Linked DNA regions of Homo sapiens: region 2 is linked to region 1. Evidence: promoter capture Hi-C in 16 types of primary human blood cells and fetal thymus (Javierre and others, 2016). All regions are on one chromosome and are shown on one strand. Each heading gives the region's core, a stretch centred on a gene start or on the middle of the fragment in contact. The rest is flanking DNA. Distances are from core to core; before and after follow the strand shown. Region 1 holds the start of GAB2 (GRB2 associated binding protein 2). Region 2 overlaps NARS2 (asparaginyl-tRNA synthetase 2, mitochondrial).

Evidence for each region. Contacts are between HindIII fragments. The CHiCAGO score rates a contact against its expected background, and 5 or more counts as called.
Region 2: a contact is called between a fragment that was not itself captured here and the fragment with the promoter of GAB2 in region 1, in 2 of 17 cell types (total B cells and naive B cells). The highest score is 9.3, in total B cells.

What each region holds. Positions count from the first base shown.
Region 1 is chr11:78,415,795-78,419,982 of GRCh38, forward strand. GAB2 (GRB2 associated binding protein 2) reads right to left here and starts at 2,026. Exons shown (of 10, transcript NM_080491.3): 1 at 1,852-2,026. The coding sequence starts at 1,926. RefSeq lists silencers at 629-923, 1,386-1,515, 1,586-1,685, 1,796-2,415 and an enhancer at 1,012-1,766. The HindIII fragment of the contact is 5,597 bases long and covers 1-4,188 here.
Region 2 is chr11:78,472,532-78,476,719 of GRCh38, forward strand. The region is part of intron 9 of NARS2 (asparaginyl-tRNA synthetase 2, mitochondrial); the gene reads right to left. It overlaps LOC105369403 (a long non-coding RNA gene), which reads left to right. Exons shown (of 2, transcript XR_007062798.1): 1 at 1-765. Among named protein-coding and RNA genes, the nearest start is that of LINC02728, 45 kb to the left of the region's middle. RefSeq lists an enhancer at 512-806. The HindIII fragment of the contact is 8,270 bases long and covers 1-4,188 here.

The DNA of each region.
Region 1 (4,188 bases), core at 776-3,275:
AGAAATGGGTCATAGAGTCTGGGTGAGAGTTCAAGGAGCGATAAGTCAAATGTAGATACAGTGTCATACTGTTTGCAAATTGTTTCAAAAACAACTTTCAAGGTTCTTTAGTGTATAGTGTTCAAACTTGAAAATTAAGGGTCACTTTTTTTTTTTTTTTTTTTACTGTGGACACTGTATTCCACTAGCTTGTATGGAAATCTATTTGTATAGATAATTTTTGGAAGCTCTTCGGGACAAAGTTTTTAAATTATTTATAAAATTGTTAATAGTAAATCACTGCTCCTTAATCCTAATTAAAATATTCAACCTTCCTAACGAACTGATACAACCCTGAAGAGGAAAAAAGTTTATTTCTTAATAATTATACTTTGGCTACATAGACACTCCTAAAAATGAGCTTCCGAACTGAGATGAACAATTCACTGCTTCATTCCTCCTATAAATCCACGTCCACTTTCAAAACTCATGTGCTAAATCCTTAGATTTTTTTCCCCCAGCAAACATCTACCTAAGAGCCTGATTTCATTGACACACACTTGTACTCCGCAACAACAACACTTCCTTTGAAAAACAGAATGTCACTTCCTCAGTCCAGAGGCCAGAAGTCCCTTGATTCTGATCTGGGGAGCCAAGACAGGAAATTCTGGTAGGCTTCTGCCTCTCCCCCCATGGACAGCCACTGGTGCAGCTGACAGAGGGCAGGGTCTATTCCGAGCTCCCTTGATGCACTGCAGCTGGAGGCAACGGCTCCCTTCCAGGCTGTGGGAGTGATCCCGGAGTTCGGCACCACAGCCCGTTAAACAAGGGCATTTCATGGGAAACGGAGAGGGAGCAGATGAGAGACCTTGAAACCTTCCAGCAACCTTACCCCCACTTCCAAACTCCCGCGACTACCCCAAGACCATTTCGGCCAAATCTCAGTAACTGGCACCATCTTGTACTTTGACCTCACCAGGCAAGGCATCCTCTGGGGAGAGGGGTTAAAAAAAAAAAAAAAAAAAGCCAGAACTCCACGGCTCAGCGCCACGCTGTTCCACCTCCCCCAGGCTGCCAGTTCCCCACCTAGAGGGAAAAGGCTGTTCCAGCGATCTCAGTAAACACTGTCGGTTGGCAACACCTGGCCGCGGAGAGCCTCGATCTCTCCCGACCCCAGACACCCGGGAGCTGCCCGGTCCCAAACCCGGGCCAGCCACGGGGACCAAACTGCAGTGTCACACCGGGGTCGGGGGGAGGCGCCTGTGAGAGACGAACGGAATAAAGGGAAAGAAGGGGGACAAACAAATGAGTCACTTAATACAAGGGCTGCACATGCCGCTGACGCTGCCGGTGATGCAGCCGCGGACGGAGGGAGGCCGGCGGCCGGGAGGGGCAGGCGGAGAAAGGGAAGGAGAGGGCGTGAGGCGCTCGCCCTTTGTGGGGCCGTCCGCGCGGCCCCACAGCCTACGCCCCCCTTTCCCGCCCTCTCCCCGACCCTGCGGGCTGAAGCTGCTCGGGGCTGCCGCGGAGCCCCAGCCCCGAGAGTCAACTCTCTCGGTCTCCAGAAGCCATCAATACAAAACTTCGACACTGTATTTAGTTCACGAGCAGACCGGCTTGGGAGGCGCCGCAGCCGCACCCGCCTGGCGGAGCAGGAGCCGCAGCCTCAACCTGCCGCCCGCCCCGCCCCTCGGCGGCCCACCTGTGACAGGTGTGCAGGTGCCCCACACGCCCCCGGCCGCTCCTCGCCCCCGGCCCCCCGCGGCTCCGGGCCCGAGCTCCCCAGCCTGCCGCCCCTCCGGGAGTCCCCCGCCCCTCCGCAGGCCCCGGAGCGCCCCCCGCCCGCCCCTGGGCGGCCGCGCCCGCACTCACATAGCGCCTCAACTTCTTCTCGGGAGGCGATTTCCTCAGCCAGCCGGTGCACACCACGTCGCCGCCGCCGCTCATGCTGCCGGCCTGGAGCCCCCCGCCGGGTCGCGCGGACGAGGGCGCGGGCTCGGGCAGCTGGGGCAGCGGCCGGCGGTGCGCAGCTCGCGGGAGGCCAGGGGCGGGGCGGGCGGCCCGGCGGGGACTAGGCGGCGCGGCGCGGCGCGAGCCCGGCAGCCTCGCGCGCGCCCGCTCCCCCGCCCCGAGCGCGCGCAATCCGCACTCTCCGCCCGGCCGCCGGGGGAGCAGCTGCAGCAGGAAGGCCGGCTCGCTCGCCACGCCCGCTCCCGCCGCGCCCCCGAGGCCGCCGCGCACGCGGACGCGGGGCTAGGGACCCGCGAGGATACAGAAAGCCACCGCCGCCGGCGCGCCCCGGAGTCTCGCTTTCTCCTGAGGCCCCAAGCCGCGGGCGCGGAGGCCAGGGAGGCGACCGCGCCCCTGGCGCTGGCGGGTGTGAGGGGAAGGGACTGCGCGCCCTCGGTCGTCGATCGATTTTTCACCGAGCGTCGACGGGGAAGGGATACTAGGGCTGCTCACATTTCCGATACATTCTGCGGGTCAGGTTCCGGCTGAAAGGAGGGACCCCTTCCCAGCAAGAAGCTCCTTAACTCTGGCGTCCCTCGGCGGGAGGAGGAGACGGACCTACTACGCGCCGGAGCCTTTGCTTTTGTAGCTTACAGGATTGTCTTCAGTATTGTTCCTATTTTATGGACAGCCTAAGGGCAAGGGCTTGTACAAAGCCGAGCCAATTTTCCAATTCAGGTGTGTGGGGGAGGAGGGGTCCCGGTCATCTGCTATTCAAAATGAGGGCATTGCCTTAATGGGATCGACCTGGGAGCCTCTCATTGCCTGGAAACCAAGTCCAGCTGACTCCCTCCTACACTGCCTCTGGGAAAACACAGTTTAGTATAGAAAATTCGCATGATTTGTAGAATGGAAGAAGCAAAACTAGTCAATGTATTTCATAACGAATTGGAAGGCAAGGTCAAGTGCAGAAGAACAAGAAATTGGGGTCCAAATTCCCCAACGTTCCCGCTCATTGACACAGGCTATGAGACCTCTGTTTGTAAATATAATGGTATCCCAGATGTACGTGGAAGCACACAACCCCAGCACTTCAGCGGGAGGGGGGAGAAAAAAATCTTTTGTACGAGCTCTTTTCTCATCACAAAGTGTCTCTCTAAGCAGCATTAAAAGGCAGGTCCTCCCTAACTTCTCTGATAAGTGGATAGTAACCTGTTTATTCAATGGGGAACCGTGCTGTGTGGACAGATGAATTGGAGAAGCAGCATCTTGCAGTGCCCCACACAACCTCAGACTAAAGCTGTTTTGTTTATTTCTGTCTCTGTGCAGCTGAGTTGTTTCAAGCAGTTGGACATCATTTGGTCCAAAAGATCTTGATTGGGTTGGGGGAAGTTCACCCTCCTCAATTTGGAAAAGCGAATCCCCTACCACGTACTTAGCTCTTCTAGATACCCTGGGAGTTTTAGCGGTCAGTCCCCTGGATCTAACATTTCACTGACTTTCTTCAATATCCAGTGTGCTGCTGGATGGGAAGTAAAGCCAGAACTGGTAGGCTGGGACCACAGCTCCCTTAACCTTACAATTTAGGGATCCTTAAGTCACGTATGAAGGGCCACCACCAGAATGATGGCCATTTTAACTTCTGGCTTTAAGTACCTTAAATCCCTGTAAGACAAACAACACTTAACGTCTGCCAAATCAATCAGGAGGCGGTGACTTCCAACCAAAATAAAACTATCCTGACTTCATTCACATCTGAGTCATGGTGCCAAGTCCCAGAGATTGCAGAGTCGGAGAAATCTGCATGGTTTGGCTGCAGCTGAGGTTTGTGATGCAAGTCAGGCATACGTATGCCCTATCTTCCCCCAGAAGAGTAGTCTTACGTATCCTTTGATAGTTACATGATTCAATACACAGACTGGAAGACTGTTTAGCAAGAGTTAGTGGGGGTTAGGTCATATTCTGCCAGAAATTCCTTAAAGTCTTATTTTGTTTGCTTAGGAAAAGATGGTGTTATTTACAATTTCATGTGGAAATGGAAAAGTTTGATGTTTCTTGTTTGGCCAATGGCAGGAGGGACCTTGAAATATGAATACAACAGTCACCAGGTATCGACTTTGGGAAGGGTTCTCTGAACACCCCCATCTTTCCCCAAAGGTTAAAGAAAGGAGCTTTTTTTTTTTTTTTTAGACGGAGTCTCGCTCTGTTGCCCAGGCTAGAGTGCAGTGGCGTGATCTCCGCTCACTGCCAGCTCCGCCT
Region 2 (4,188 bases), core at 1,651-4,150, 58 kb after region 1:
TACAATTTCTGCATAAAGGCTAAATTCCATTACTACACGAGTTGCTGAAACAGCACATTTTCATATAAAATAATTGTAACAGGTAGTGAAAAATACACTGAAATCTACTCAAAAGAATACAAGTCACATGGTATCTATACAGATTCAATAACTAACAGTGCAGTCTGCATAAAGGACAACAGTTTCTCTTTCGCCATCTCCCTGTTTTTTCTTTTCTCTTTACTGTTTTTAGGATTAACTCAATAGTAGATTCAGCTACACCAGTATTTTCAGAAGTTTCAGTGCCAATGCCTTAAAAGGCATGTAACAGCAGAAAGGTGATGCCAAAGTGGTAGAGAGGGCACCACCACACAATCTATTTCTCAACTTGATACCTCTGATGTTGATGACTTAATAATCACTGTCATCAGACCAGCACCATCTCATTATGCTTTCAGTGGCTACCCCGCACATTTTAACATGCATATCTGACTTAACAGTCTAAAGCAGCCGGGTGTGGTGGCCTGCACCAGTTGTCTCAGTTACTCGGGAGGCTGAGGCAGGAGGATTGCTTGAGCCCAGGAGTTCAAGGCTGCAGTGAGCTATGATCACACCACTGCCCTCCAGCCTGGAAAACACAGCAAGGTCCTGTCTCTTAAAAACAAAAAGTCTAAAGTTCACCAGTTTCTCTCTCTTCCTTTCAAACAACAAAAGGACTAACATTTCAACTATCAACGTGCCTCTCCAGTTTTACAAGTTATTGCTGCCCAGTATTTCAGTTCTAAGGTAACAGGTATTTTCTTTCAACTATGTGAAGATACTATTTTATCAATCTATTGTCATTACTGTTCTTTGAACTTCTTGGGAATCTAATGCTGTTTGTTATGTCTGCTGTTCTTGCTCATGGTAGGTATTTCCCTGTGTATTTGGAGTGTGAGATTATCTTCAGTAGAGTTTGTTTTGAGAATATCATGCCACTTGGGTTGAGGGTACAAACTTCAAGTTTGGTTTTATATTGATTTCTATAGCTACTCCAGCATTATCACCAACTGAAGACAATTTTTTATTTTAATGCCCTGGCATGAAGATTCTTGAACTACACAGGAAACATAAATTCAAACTCTAGGCTCACTTAAGGGCCAACTGTGGCTGCAAATTCTCAATGAAGACTATTTCTGTTTTGTCTCTATCCTTAAGCCCAGGCTAAAGCAGATATACTTCTACACTTCTTTGTAAATTCTCTATGCTGGCTAGCTCAATTTTCTGTTTGTTTGCTTATTTTCTAATTGGCCCTTTCATTAAGGGTGTAGTCCTTGACCAGTTCTAGCTTTGTGTGTATATCTGTGCATGCATTTCAGGGGATATCTTGATTCTAATTCATTCTGCTACGTCTATTCTCATGTCATCTCATTGCTGTTAAAATCTCTGGTTTCAAAAACTGGAAAATCGCCCTCCAGCTTCCCTACCCTACACCCTGAGAATCCTCAGCATCACACCAACTGTCCATATCACTCTGGTGTTTGGTTCCTTCTTCATTTCTAGCACCTGGAACTTCTCCTACTTTCTAGTGAATTCAACAACGTATTTAAAAGAATCTTATAATATTTTAAGTATTATTTTTAGATGTTTTGCAGAAAGAGTGTTTTCAAATTACCTAGTCTGACATATTGCTTTTAACAGTATTGTCATTAAATCCTTTCAACAATATAAGGCAGAGTATTTTTTTATAGATGAGGAAACTGAAGTTCAGAAAAGTTAAAGATTCACTATTAATCAAGTTCATAGTCGTAATTACATTATTCATATAAATATTTAACTGTTCATCTTTTTCTCTAGATTTTCAACTCCATAAAAAAATAAATCAATGTTTGTTTTCATTATTCTCAAGAACTAGCAAAGTGCCTAACTCATATTAGGCAGTCAATAAATATTTGTTAAAAAATAATAATTTACTCATTAATGGCTAGTAAATGGTAGGGCCAGGATTAGAATCCAGGTTTTCTGAATCATGGTTCACTACCCTCAGTGACTGAAATAAATAGTGATATTAGCCAATAAGAAACCTCAGGAGAGGATCCAGCCTAAAGAATACCTTTACAGCCACAGTTACTCAAGTCACTTGTTTGTCCACTCAATTACTCAGTATTTACTGAGTTCCTGTTAAAGGCACTGGGCTAAGTCCTGGGGGTATAAGAGTAAGCAATTTAAACATAGCCTCTGACATCACAGAGGTAGTAGATACCAATCAAATAATCACACATATACATTTATTTAAAAATGTCTGAATTTTTAATTGACAAATATTTTATGTATTTACAGGATACAATGTGTTTTTGGTATTATACACTGTGGGATGAATATATCAAGGTAATTAACATATCTATCGTCTCACATGCTTCACTTTTTTTTTTGCAGTGAGAAGATTTAAAATCTACTCCTTTAGCAATTTTGAGATATACATTACAATTAATTATGGTCACTTTGTTATGCAATAAATCCTGAACACTTATTCCTCTGGTCTAACTGAAACTTTGTACCCCTTGGACAATTTCTTTCCATTCCCTTCAAGAACCCCTCACCGGCCACTGGTAACTACCATTCTACTCACTACTTCTGTAGTGTTAACTTTATTACATTTCACATCAAAGTGAATCATGCAGTATTTGTCTTTCTGTGCCTAGCTTCTTTCACTTAGCATTAAGTCTTCCAGGTTGATCCATGCTGTCACAAATAAGATTTCCTTTGAATAGTATTCCACTGTGTATATATATACACATTTACTTTATCCAGTCACCTACTGATGGACACTTAGGTTGATTCCATATCTTGGCTACTATGAATAGTGCTGCAAAGAACATGTAAGTGCAGATATCTCTTTGACATACTGACTTCAGTTCTGCATATGTACCCAGAGGTAGGATGGCTGAATCATATGGTAAATATACTTTTGGTTTTTTGAGAAACCTCCCATACTATCCTCCATAATAGCTCTACTAATTTACATTGCCACTAACAGTTATAAAAGGGTTCCCAAGCGCCACATCTTTGCCAACACCTGTTATCATTTGACTTTTTTTTTTTTTTTTTTTTTTTTTTTTTTGAGACAAGGTCTTGCTCTGTCTCCCAGGCTGGAGTGCAGCAGCGTCTGTGATCATAGCTCACTGAAAACTCAACCTCCTGGGCTTAGGCAATCCTCCCACCTTAGTCTCCTGAGTAGCTGGCACTACAGGCACATGTCACCACACCTGACTAATTTATTTATTTATTTTTTGTAGAGACAGGGTCTCACTAAGTTGGCCAGGGTGGTCCTGAACTCCTGGGTTCAAGTGATCCTCCCACCTCAGCCTCCCAAAGTGCTGAGACTACAGGCATGAGCCAACGTGTCTCATTCTACTTTTTGATAACAGCCATTCTAACAGGTGTGAGTGGTTATCTCAGTGCGGTTTTAATTTGCATTTTATTGATTAGTGATGTTGGACACTTTTTGATAAACCTATTGGCCATCTGTATCTTACACAAATGTAAAACATTTGTGATGTCTGCCTGCCTGAGCAAAGCATGGGGGTGGATGCTGAGGCTAGGTGGGGTGGCTGCCCTGTAGGGGCTCAAACCAGATAGACTTTCCTACTGAGCTTCTGCAGCAACCAGCTAGGCTTTGTAAATGGGCTATGCCACTGGCTGGTATCTCTGATCAGGTGCTACTGCTGGCAGGAACACAGCTATGACTAAGATCCGTGTACTGGTTGCTGTGAGCACTGCCCCACTCCTTTGTTCCTACTTGACCCCTGGTAGTCTAGGCCTTACCCCCAGGGTTCCCTGTGAGACAGGAATGGGCCTCCTAGGAAGCATCACAGAATGCTGGGGAAACTGGATAGCTGTCTCTTTTTCCACTGCATTAACTGTGTGCCAAGGGGAATCTTCTGTGTGTGGTATTGTGCCTACTTAGGGAAGGGAGGATTCAGTCAAACTGAGACCATTGCTCCTACCCTTCTAATGCACTTTTTGCTCTGTGGTCCATCTGCGTGTCTCAATTTCATTCCCAAATTTTGGGATTTTCAAAAAGGTGTTCTTGTATGTGACTAGTTGCCAAATGGACTTTCTGTGGTGAAGGCTGGGACCCTCTATTCATCATCTTGCTGATGTCCCTCTCCCCACAAATTTAAACTGCAACTATGATTTGTAGTATGCAGAATGGATTATGACAATGAC